Regions from separate parts of the Homo sapiens genome. Here region 1 is linked to region 2. Evidence: promoter capture Hi-C in 16 types of primary human blood cells and fetal thymus (Javierre and others, 2016). All regions are on one chromosome and are shown on one strand. Each heading gives the region's core, a stretch centred on a gene start or on the middle of the fragment in contact. The rest is flanking DNA. Distances are from core to core; before and after follow the strand shown. Region 1 overlaps DEPDC1 (DEP domain containing 1). Region 2 holds the start of ZRANB2 (zinc finger RANBP2-type containing 2).

Region 1 (5,806 bases), core at 1,641-4,140, 2.6 Mb before region 2:
TAGGGTCAATTCTGGTAGAGGGGTATTGCTTACACACAAAATGGCTCTAGAATGCTACATTTTCTAAATTTCTTTGATGAGTTATCTAGTTTGTATATTCCCTCTTTTGTTTGTGTTTGTCCTCATTTCTGGAACTTAGTTTCTATTGCTTCTTTTGATTGTAATGTTTTGGCCTCCTTTTATTTTAATATAAAATACTTCAAAGATATAATAAAACAATACCCATGTATGTAACTGGCAACCAATGTAATTGTTGACATTTTGCCAGACTTCTCCTTTAATTTTTTTAAACTTTTATTTTAAGTTCAGGGGTGCATGTGCAGGTTTCTTACATAAGTAAACTTGTGTTGTGGAGGTTTGTTGTACGGATTATTTCATCACCCAAGTATTTAGTACCCATTAGTCATTTTTCCTGAACCTCTCCCTCCTCACACCTTCCATTGTCCAATAGGCCCCAGTGTCTATTGTTCCCCTCTATGTGTCCATGTGTTCTCATCAGTTAGCTCCCACTTGTAAGTGAGAGCATGTGATATTCAGTTTTCTGTTCCTTAGTTTGCCTCCACCTCCATCTATGTTCCTGCAAAGTACATGAACTCATTCTTTTTTATGGCTGCATACTATTCCATGGTGTATATGTACACATTTTCTTCATCCAGTATACCACTGAGGGACATTCAGGTTGACTCATTGTCTTTGCTATTGTGAATACTGCTGCAATGAACATACGTGTACATGTGTCTTCATGACAGAATGATTTATATTCCTTAGGGTATATACCTAGTAAAGGGATTGTTAGGTTAAATGGTAGTTTTGGTTTTAGGATTTTAATGAATCATTATACTGTTGTCCACAACTCATATGGAACCAAAAAGAGCCCAAATAGCCAAGGCTATCCTAAGAAAAAAGAACAAAGCTGGAGGCATCATGCTACCAGAATTCAAACTATACTACAGGCCTGTAGTAACCAAAACAAAATGGTACTGGTATAAAAACCAACACATAGACTAATGAAACAGAATACAGAGCCCAGAAATAAGGCCATGCACCTACAACCAACTGATCTTCAGCAAAGCTGACAAAAACAAGCAATGGGGGAAATGATTTCCTATTTAACAAATAGTGCTGGGATAACTGGTAAGTTACATGCCGAAGATTGAAATGGGACACCTTCTTACACCATATACAAAAATTAACTCAACATGGATTAAAGAGTTAAGTGTAAAACCCAAAACTATAAAAAACCTGGAAGAAAACCTAGGCAATATCATTCTGGACATTAGAATGGGCAAAGATTTCATGATGAAGATGCTAAAAGCAGTTGCAACAAAAGCAAAAATTGACAAATGGACTGTAGTTACATGAAGGAGCTACACAGCAAAAGAAAACTATCAATGGAGTCAACAGACAACCTATCGAATGGGAGAAAATTTTTGCAAACTATGAATCTGACAAAGGTCTAGTATCCAGCATTTACAAGGAACTTAAATTTAAAAGCAACTCCATTAAAAAGGGGGCAAAGGACATGAACTGACACTTTTCAAAAGAAGACATATATGCAGCCAACAAGCATATGAAAAAAGTTCAATATTACTGATTGGAGAAATGTAAATCAAAACTATAATGAGATACCATCTCACACCAGTCAGAATGGACACTATTAAAAAACAAAAAAATAACAGGTGCTGGCAAGGTTGCGGAGAAAATGGAATGTTTATACACTGTTGGTGGGAGTGTAAATAACTCCTTTTTTAAAAAAAATGAAATTCTTTGCTCATTCATATCTCCCTCTAAGGGAGAGTAAAATATAAACTTACAGTTTCATAAAATAAACCTATAGTTGTATTTCTTTTCCATGCTTTTATACTTTTAATAAATGTATATAAACAATATGTGGTTTGGTGTTTTTTCACTTTATCATATCTTTTACCATATATCAATTTTTTTTTCTTCTCCAAGTTTTACTCTGTCACCCAGGATGGAGTGCAGTAGTGTGATCACGGCTGACTACAGTCTCAACCTCCCGGGCTCGGCCTCCCAAGTAGATGAGACCACAGGCATATGCCACCATGCCTGGCTAATTAATTTTTTTTTTTTTTTTTGTAGAGACAGGGTCTCCCTATGTTATCCAGACTGGTCTCGAACTCCTGGGTTCAAGTGATCCTCCTGTCTTGGCCTCCAAAAGTGCTGGGATTACAGGTGTGAGCCACTCTGCCTGGCCCCATACATCAAATTTATTCAAAAAGTTTGTAGTGACCTCAAAAGTTTGAACACCTCAGAAGTTTGACCTTGGTCTTCAAAATTCTCTTAGACTTTTACCAAATGAATTTTAGAATCTGCTTATCAAGTTCCACAAAGAAACTATATTGAAGTTTTGAATGAAAATGCACTGAATTTCTATTTCAATTTGGGAGGAATTGACTTGTATATACATGTACTAAGTATTTTCATTCATGAACAGGGTATCTTTCTCCATTTATTCTATTTAATACAATTTAATACTTTTCTCCAATAAGGTCTTACACATTTTTGGTAAACTTTATTTTTATGTACTTTATAGTTTTGTTACGATCGTAAAAGACTAGGAGAGGCCGGGCGTGGTGGCTCATGCCTGTAATCCCAGCACTTTGGAAGGTCAAGGTGGGTGGATCCCTTGAGCTCAGGAGTTTGAGACCAGCCTGGGCAACATAGTGAAACCCCGTGTCCACAAAAAATTCAAAAATTAGCTGGGCGTGGTGGTGTGTGCCTGTAGTCCCCACTACTTTGGAGGCTGAGGTGGGAGGATAGCTTGAACCCAGGAGGCAGAAAAGACTAGGGGCAGAGAGACTAGTTGAGGATTTATGCAGAAATCCAGGTAAAACAAAAGCAAAACAAATAAAGAGAAATCCAGGTAAGAATTATAGCCTAACAAAAAGAAGATTCATCTTGGAGAGAGATGTGTACAGATCAGAGAACTACTTAGGGAGCACAATAGACTAAATCATATTTAAAGGACAAGAAAGGGAAAGAATCAAGGCAACTATAGGGAAGGCAATGCAATTTATTCAGATAGGAAACCTAAGAAGACAAAACTTAGGTTAGAGGGTGATAGTCATTTTTCTATATGGTTTATTTGAAGTGCCTTTCCAGGAGGCAGATGAAAAAACATGGGCCGAAAGCTCAGGAAAGATATTTCAGGAGAGGCCTGAAAGTCTTAAGAAAAGTAGGCGAAGACATGGCATGAGATTGCCTAGGGAGAAGGTGAAGTAAGGACAAGGGCAGGAACTTGAAGATGGGAGAGTTAAAGGATGAGCAGCAGTAAAGGAGCCCACAAAGATAACTGGGGAGTAGTTAAGAGAGGGAAGATTTGTAGAGTGCTATACAAAATGGATTATTCATATGATTGTTATTGTAGTTTACTTGTATGACATAAATCATTTTTGGTACATAGGAAACAATAAATTCTTAGACATTTCATTTGAAAAGTACCTAATGTTGTAGGAAAAAAAAAGCATGGGCATTAGATTCCACAGGCCTAGTTTAATGGATACATAACAAAGAACCGTAGGTCATAAGAGAAAAAGCAATTATGCTGACCTGTGGGAATCAGAAAAGCTCCACAGAAGAGGCTATAAAGGAGCTGAGATTAAAAGAAATGTATAAGTTTACTAGCCTGACAAATGTGTACAGTGTCTCACGGTGGAAAAACATTTCAGGCAGACAGAACAAGATTTGTTGAAGCATGGTCTCAGTTTCCCCATCTGTTAAAAGGGGTTAATACCTACCCTGCTTGGCTACTATAGCAATTAAGTAAGAACACATATGTAAATCATCAAACAGAGTTTCTGTTATATCTTAACTGCTTAATAAATATTCTCTTTAACCTGTGGTATATTTCTTCTGTTATCATTGTTATTTTTTGAGATAGTCTTGCTCTGTCGCCCAAGCTGGAGTGCAGTGGTGCAATCTCAGCTCACTGCAACCTCCACCTCCCAGGCTCAAGCAGTTCTCGTGCCTCAGTCTCAGGTGTGTGCTACTACACCCAACTCATTTTTTGTATTTTTAGTAGAGACGGGGTTTCACCATGTTAGCCAGGCTGGTCTCAAACTCCTAGCTTCAAGTTGATCCGCCCACCTCAGCCTCCCAAAGTGCTGGGATTACAGGCATGAGCCACTTTACCTGGTCCTGTTATTTGTCTGTTATTTATTATGTAAGATTTGCTATTATCCTATTACATGTATTCTTAAATTAAATTATATGTTTGAAGGGAAGGATCTGTGAACTTATAATCTAGAAACTATGCAACTAAAGGTCAGTAATATGTCCTTAAAATGTTATAAAGTGTTCAGAATATGCGGAAGTGATAATACATCAGTATTTCCCTTCCAATTCCCTACTTTATTATATATGCTAACACTTAAAAACTTTAAATTTTGTAGCAATTAACTTTCACATTACAATTTTTCTAAATGATTTTAGTTGAACTAACAGCATTAATAGTTTTCCAAAGAAATAAAACTTCTTTGAAGAAGCTGCTGTTATAGTAAAAGTATAATATAAGTAGAGATAAAACTTTACAGTAATTCAGTTTTACAGTTACATATCTGTTCATTACCTGAAGAGCTGGTTGTTATCATCAACATTTTCTGATCCCCACCTCCCTTTGATATCTTCAATTACATGATTCTTAAGAAATTTCCTCAACAGTTGGATAGTCTGTTGCCTTGTAACTTCAGGACCAAAATTGCTATTATTTCTTAATAGGTCATAAAGCCAATCCACTGCTTCTCCTGCTGTGAAACAATTGCCATATTTTTTAAAGTGTTGTCTGTGTTTTCTTAGAGGCATTCCTGCTCGAAAAGATGTGGTAACTTCATTCCACTGTAAAAAGAAGGAAAATATTTTTAAAAAATTGAAGAAAAATTAAATCTCATATTGATTTGAAGTACATTAGGTAAAGAAAATTCTTTAATTCACATCTGATTATATCATAAAAATTCTTGAAGAATCATTCATCTTATTTGTGCCATATAAAATTTTATATCTGGCCGGGCACGGTGGCTCATGCCTGTAATCCCAGCACTTTGGGAGGCCGATGCGGGTGGATCACCGGAGGTCGGGAGTTCGAGACCAGCCTGACCAATATGGAGAAACTCCGTCTCTACTAAAAATACAAAATTAGCTGGGCATAGTGGTGCATGCCTATAATCCCAGCTACTCAGGAGGCTGAGTCAGGAGAATCACTTGAACCTGGGAGGCGGAGGTTGCGGTGAGCTGAGATTGCACCATTGCACTCTAGCCTTGGCAACAAGAGCAAAACTCAGTCTCAAAAAAAAAAAAATTATATCTTACACTGCTTTCTTTTTATTAATTCTAGTGCTGTAGTAATATTTTTATGTAATAGCTTTTTTATTAGAAGAACTTCATTGGCTGATCTAAGATCCTTATTTAAGATCCTGAGCTTATTTAAGAAATCTGGAAATAAGGAAGAACTACAATCAATAGAGAAAACATTCATCCCTGTTTTTTACCTCAATTAATATTAATGTTGGTAGCACTGTGCTTCACATTCATTATTTCACTTTAATTACCCCAATTCTATGAATAGGTACTATTAATTTCTCATTTTTCACATAAGGAAAATAAAGCAGAGAGATTAATAAAATGACCAAGGTCACACAGCTAAGTGATGAACCTAGGCATTCAAACCCAGGTGTGATTGACTCTAGAAACTGATATTGAGCTGCTCACTCTGTACTGGCCTGAGGACACAGTAATAAAAATGACAGAAAGGGACTCTGTACTAAGGGAGATTACAGAACGGCTTTCC
Region 2 (6,102 bases), core at 1,594-4,093:
CCCCGATTGGTTTTGAGCTTACCATAAGCATTTGTTTACTGGTATACATAATCCATCATAGTGACAACTATTACCATTAAAAAATGCAAAGAATAATTTAAAACTTCTTTATACTATACTTAAAGATGAGACTGAATAACAATACCTTGGATTTAAAAGGTTACCCTGGCTTGTCAATGTCACTAATAAGAGCTGTAATATAAACAAGTAGTGGCCAGATCTATTATTTTGGAAGAAAGAGCAGACAATAATTTAAAAAACATACGTTTTACATTGCCAGTCATTAGCACTAAATAGGCCTCGGCTCTTTTCTGCAAGTGTCTTTCCTATTTCAGTGCCCCCAGCTTTCATCATCTTGGCCTCAGTTGTTTTCTCTGAAAACAGAAAAATCATGCAATATGAACCTGGAGAAATAAATAAATGATACATATACAGTATAAATAGAATCTTCTTTAAATACTTACCCCGACCACATCGATTACAGCTGGTTCTTCTAGCAAAGTTTACATTTCCACATCTAAAAACAGATTAAAAAGCATTTATAAAAATTTAAATTTGTAAAATTTTACATTTTAACTTGTCCTCACTACATATCTGGAATTCATAACTTCTAATCCATCTTAGTCATGTTAATGTCAATGTTACCAACAAAAAACTCCACACAATTTACTGGGGGAAAAATACTTGATTGGAGCCACAAATTCAGAATAAGATATCCCAATCCTCCATTTACCAGTCATGTGATCTTGATTAAGTTACTTAGGATCTCTGCCTCAAGTCCTCACATTAGCACATATCATTAGTTATAATCCCTTTACAAAGTTGAAAGTGAGAGTTAACTCCACTTCACTAATTACTTACAAGCTACCAGGGAGTTTTAAACCCTAGCGGTGGACCAATGAGGAAAAAAACTTATAAATCAAGGAGGGCTTCATGGATCTTAATGAAATTATCTTTTTACATGCAGTAGGTAGGATGCTAAGGAACCAAATATGATAGGTTGTACTGACTAAAAATACAAAAAGATTCAATAATTGTAAGAAAACTGAGTTTTACAGGGCATTTCTCAAACCTCTGAGACTTCGCTGAAAAAAATGACACAACCACCAAAACCAATAATCTCAACACATGTAGTACAGTAAGACTTTATGCTTATACTCAACAAACTCAAACCTAAAGAATTACTGGTTCACTCACATGACCTTAGAAGTGTACGTGTATATTGGTAAAAGTATGTTAAATGCTCTGGATAACATGGAATGCTTAAACTTTAAAAAGCTGATTTTTAAGGCATTATACTAGAATACAATACAGATGTGAAGTATGGGATGACACTAAAGTGAAACACTCTAAATAATATTTAGGTTAAGTTTTTCCCCTAAAAATATTCCTTTTAACTCCATTAAGCATGGAAAATATACTCTGAAAATTTATCCTGCATTTAAACATATTGTACAAACAACATTCTATTCATATATTTGTAAATGAGTTGAAATGAACTCTCATTGAGAGTCCTACCTCTGGGTGTGCTGTCATTAAAGACACTGACAAAAGCACATTATTTTACAGGTAACAACAAAGTCAGAAGTTGTTGTTCTAAATCTTTTGAACGTTTTCAATAATGTCTTACCACTCAGAGCAATACTATCCATAACATATAACTTTGGTTCTATTCAGTATCATTTGTTAGGCTTGAACTACTCCTTCAGGTCATCTTAATATCAAATTACTATCAATAGCCACCAATTAGAATTTGCTACACGTCACTGTTTACACACCCTATCCATGTTATTTCATGTTTTCATTAAAAAAAAAATTCTATTCCTTTTTTAGCAGTTAAATAAGTAATAGAATTTTAACTAAACCCAGGTTTATTTCAAAGTTTTTGCTTTTTACAATCAAAACCTATTTGTGGCTAACTTAGGTACAACAAATAAAAGGCTTTTATGTGAACATGAGTTGTACATTAAATTATTTTCCATGTTATTTCCGAATAGATACACCTATTTGTGCACCCTTCAAAAAAAATCTGATTAACTATCTAGTCGAGTACTGGCTTTGGCAACAATGTCAAAAAGCAGAGCCACTAACACACGTGCTTCTCTGCTGCAGGCATCTTAAGGGCTGAGTAGGCAAAAACACAGGCCTCTTCCCTCCTTTTCGGCTCTAAGGAGGCGAAAAGCCCAATTCTTGTGGAGAAATGATCCACAAAGAAAATGTCAGAATTTCCCAAACCGAAGAGGGTAGAGCTTCCGGAAAAGGGGAAAATAGTATGGAGGAAAAGTTTGAGTAAAAATACAAAACAAGGTGAACTATAAGAGGCAAAAGGACGAGTGCGAGAAAGCAATATTTTCCGTGAACAAGAGTAAAGTTCTGCAGAGAAAAGTCACGTGGGGGAGATCCAACACCAAGCTGGCCTGACTGGAGAGGTTTCCTATCGCTAAAACCTGGCCGGGGCGGGGGAGGGGGGTGGGGGCAAAAAGGTAGGCCATCTCGCACTCTAAAAAGAGAGGCTACCTTGCGGAGGTAATGTCGAGGAAACGCTGAAGACATATCTAGAACAAAGGCTCCCGGAAAGACCTCTCTCGTGAGGAGATTGGGAGCCTTCTTCCCGCCAGGGAACTGGCGGTTCGCCGCCTCAACCCGTCTTAAGGCACAGAAAATCATAAAAAAGGAAAATGCCGGACGGACCTCGGAAAGCTTCCACTAACAAACTCCGTCCCAATTCAGGACCCTTCTTGAACTCACTTTTTGTCAGGGCAAATCCAGTCCCCGTCACTGACTCGGAAATTCTTGGTCGACATCTTGAACGCCACCAGCACAGCCACCCGCAGCTATGTCTTCACAGGAGGAAAACGGGCCGGGGACTTTCGGCAACTCGGGGCTGTCCCCACACTGCCTGACTCGCGCCTACTACTGTGTCAGGGTTTGATAATGAGGGAACTAGCCAGGAATTCAGCTTGTACGTTGTTGTCCAGACTAAGATGCCTGTGCTACTGTTTGTTAGATGGAAAAGTTAAAATACAAATATCTTTTCTAGAACTAAACTCACAGGCGCCATAAGGACAACCCAGGCAGGAGGCCTTCGTGGCACTAGAAGCCTCGGAGAGCCCCCTACAGGTGGGAGGACCCAAGAGTAAAGTACTTCCGCTTCCTTAGGTGGAGCTGGAAAGGTGGAGGCGGAAGTGACTGATCAATTCAGGGGCGTGGGGTTCGTTTAGGGTAAGAGGCGGCTCGGGCTCTTCAAGTGTTTAGAGAAATTATTTTAATAAGGCATAAAAATTCTGTTATTTCATACACATGGGATGTCGTTTGGAAACCTATTTTTATATATACATAAATAGGTGTAACAGATAAGTAAGCAACTTATACATGGGAACCAGCTGGTAATTTTAAAACTGAGACATTGTCAACACTGTTTAAATTACCAGTGTCTTTTCTGATACCATCCCATTACTTTCTTCCACAGATAACACTTTCCCATATTTGGGATTTATTCTTTTGCTTTTTAAAAATTTATGTACGTTGTTAGTCCAAACTGCACCATTTTTGTAAGCCCCCCTGCCATTTTGCAGACCTTAGTCAAAGTGAAACATTCCACGGGGTTCGGGCGTGAGAAACAGGCTGCCTCTTATACTCTGCTGGGAGAAAGTACCACATTCCACTGGAACAAGGGCCAGAGCCGCCTCGTCCTGGGAACACCTTATCAACATGTTCCCAGGAAGCAGGCCATGGCCCCCCAGACCACTCCCACCCAGGCCTATAAATCACCCCAGCCTGTAAGAAGCAACGGGCACTGGCATTAAGCTGGTCTCCCACCTCTGTAGGTCTTATGCTGGACATAAATCCTGTATTTGTTGTTAAGCCACCCTCTCTTTCTTTAATCCTTGCCTTCCCTTCAAAACCTAACATACATGTATGTTTAATTTTATGAGCTGTGTAAGCATAGTTGATTCTGTACTCTTTTTTTGTTCATTATGCTTCTAAATTAATCCTAGGTAGTTGCATGTAGAAGTGTATAGGTGTAATTCTTTTATTTGCACTGATGTATACTGATACTATTCCGTTTTGTGGTTTTGTGACAGTTTATTCCTTCTGTTTCTCAGGCTTGGTATTACAAACAACACCAGTATGAGCATTCTTATGCATAGATTCTGGTATATAAATGCATTAATTTTTTTTAGAATACAGCATATACAGTCATGCCTCACTTAATGATAGGGATATGTTCTGAGAAATGCCACTTTCGGCAATTGTGCTGTTGTGTGAACATCATAGAATGTGCTTACACAGGCCTAGCAGGTATAGCCTACTACACACCTAGGCTATATGGTATAGCCTATTGCTCCTAGACTACAAACCTGCATTTAGTACATCTTATTGTACTAAATACTGTAGGCAGTTGTAACGCAGTGGTATTTGTGTATCTAAATATAAAGGTACAGTAAAAATATGGTATTGTAATCTTATGGGACCACCTTTGTATATGTGGTTCATCATTGACTGAAATGTCTTTATGCAAGTATGATTATGTTTAGGAGAGAAATTGTTCAACTACTCTCTAGTTATGATTGTTGCTTTAAAATCTGTATTATAACATTTTGGTCATCTAGGAGTTAGCAGGTGTTGATTATATTTTCCCTTGCAAGTTGGTCACATTTTTCCAGTTCTTTTATACTGTGTAATTGTGGATTTTATCTAGGACATTTTGAACATTATGTTGCATAGACTGAGTCCTGTTAAAAGCCTTTAGGGAATGTTGATTTTTTTTTGTTTTAGAAGGCAATCGATCCAATTTGGTTCAGGTCAAAAGTTCGGTCTCATCTTCTATGAGTACTGGTTCCATGTCAGCTGGGTTTTCAAAGGCTTTGCTGTGTCCTATACCTACAATACTCAGGGATTATTTGGGGATGTTAGCAGTAGTTTAAATTGAAATTCAGTTTTGCTATGCTATTTTGTGTTTGTTCTGCACGTGTTCAGTTTAGGTGTGAACACAGAACTTGTATAGGTTCATACATAGAATTAGGGGATCCTCTTCTCTAGCTCTCTCCTCTTACATTCTTCTCCTTTTGTCTCGCAAGGTCCTCTCACCAGAAATATGAGGTTCCTCTTGGAGTTTTAGCAGCCTGGCATAGCAGCTGACTAGGGCAGATTCTGAGACAAAGCAGTGACAGAAAAGAGAGAGAAAAAATGTGGATTCCCTCTACACTCTTCAGACCACAAAGGCCTCCTTTTCTACTTCCTTTGTCCATAAAAACAGAGCTTCTGTTAGTATTGTAGATACCCAAGCCTAGGGCCTCACTCTTGGGCCAATGCCCAGAGAGAGAGAGAGAGAGAGAGAGAGAGAGAGAAATTAAAAAAAAGAAAGAAAAACCAGAAGAGGGGGAGCTAAGTATTCCCCCGACTAACTTTTGGCTCACAAAAGCCCCCTATCCCCATTCTGGCAAGACATACAGGTTTCTGTCGGTTTTTCCTGTCACCACAGTTTCACTAGGTGTTGGGCCTTAGGTCAAAAGCTGTGAGAAAAGAGGAAAAGCAAACATACAGAACATTTCTCCAGGTTTTCATTCTCCACTCCAATTTACCTGTTTTTGTTTTTGTTTTTCCAGAGTCTTCAGGCAGTTGCTTTTGGTATTTTGTCTTGAGTTTCTCACTGTAATCATTAGGAAAGATAGGTTATTGTGGGCTTTCTATGTCTTGGTTGGTACTGCAAGTCAGGGGAATGCAAATTAAAACCATATGATACCATTATGCATTCATCAAACTGACTAAAATGAAAAATCAGAGAATACTAAGTGTTGGAAAGCATGTAGAGCAACTGTAATTCTCATACATTGCAAAAAGTAATTGATACATCTACTTTGGAAAATGTCGGAATATATTAAATCTGAACATTTTCGTACACTATGACCCTGAAATTCCATTTTTAGGTATATTACCAACAGGAATGCACATAATGTTCACTGAAGATGTATATAGTAATGTTCAGAGCTGTACTATTCAAAATAGCCCAAACTGGAAGCTTCCCAATTGCTTATCAGTGGTAGCCTAGATAAATAAATTGTCATATGTTTACACAGTTGGAATGTGTAATACAGTAGC

What was found. The method cuts DNA at HindIII sites, captures the fragments that hold promoters and counts their contacts. A CHiCAGO score of 5 or more calls a contact.
Region 1: a contact is called between a fragment that was not itself captured here and the fragment with the promoter of ZRANB2 in region 2, in 1 of 17 cell types (total CD4 T cells). The highest score is 5.2, in total CD4 T cells.

The regions. Positions count from the first base shown.
Region 1 is chr1:68,489,839-68,495,644 of GRCh38, forward strand. DEPDC1 (DEP domain containing 1) reads right to left here. Exons shown (of 12, transcript NM_001114120.3): 2 at 4,592-4,857. Among named protein-coding and RNA genes, the nearest start is that of DEPDC1-AS1, 3.9 kb to the right of the region's middle. The HindIII fragment of the contact is 7,663 bases long and covers 1-5,806 here.
Region 2 is chr1:71,078,192-71,084,293 of GRCh38, forward strand. It overlaps ZRANB2 (zinc finger RANBP2-type containing 2), which reads right to left and starts at 2,844. Exons shown (of 10, transcript NM_203350.3): 1 at 2,749-2,844; 2 at 465-517; 3 at 266-374. The coding sequence starts at 2,804. ZRANB2-DT (ZRANB2 divergent transcript) reads left to right here and starts at 3,133. Exons shown (of 4, transcript NR_046217.1): 1 at 3,133-3,222. RefSeq lists an enhancer at 2,794-3,083. The HindIII fragment of the contact is 3,322 bases long and covers 2,699-6,020 here.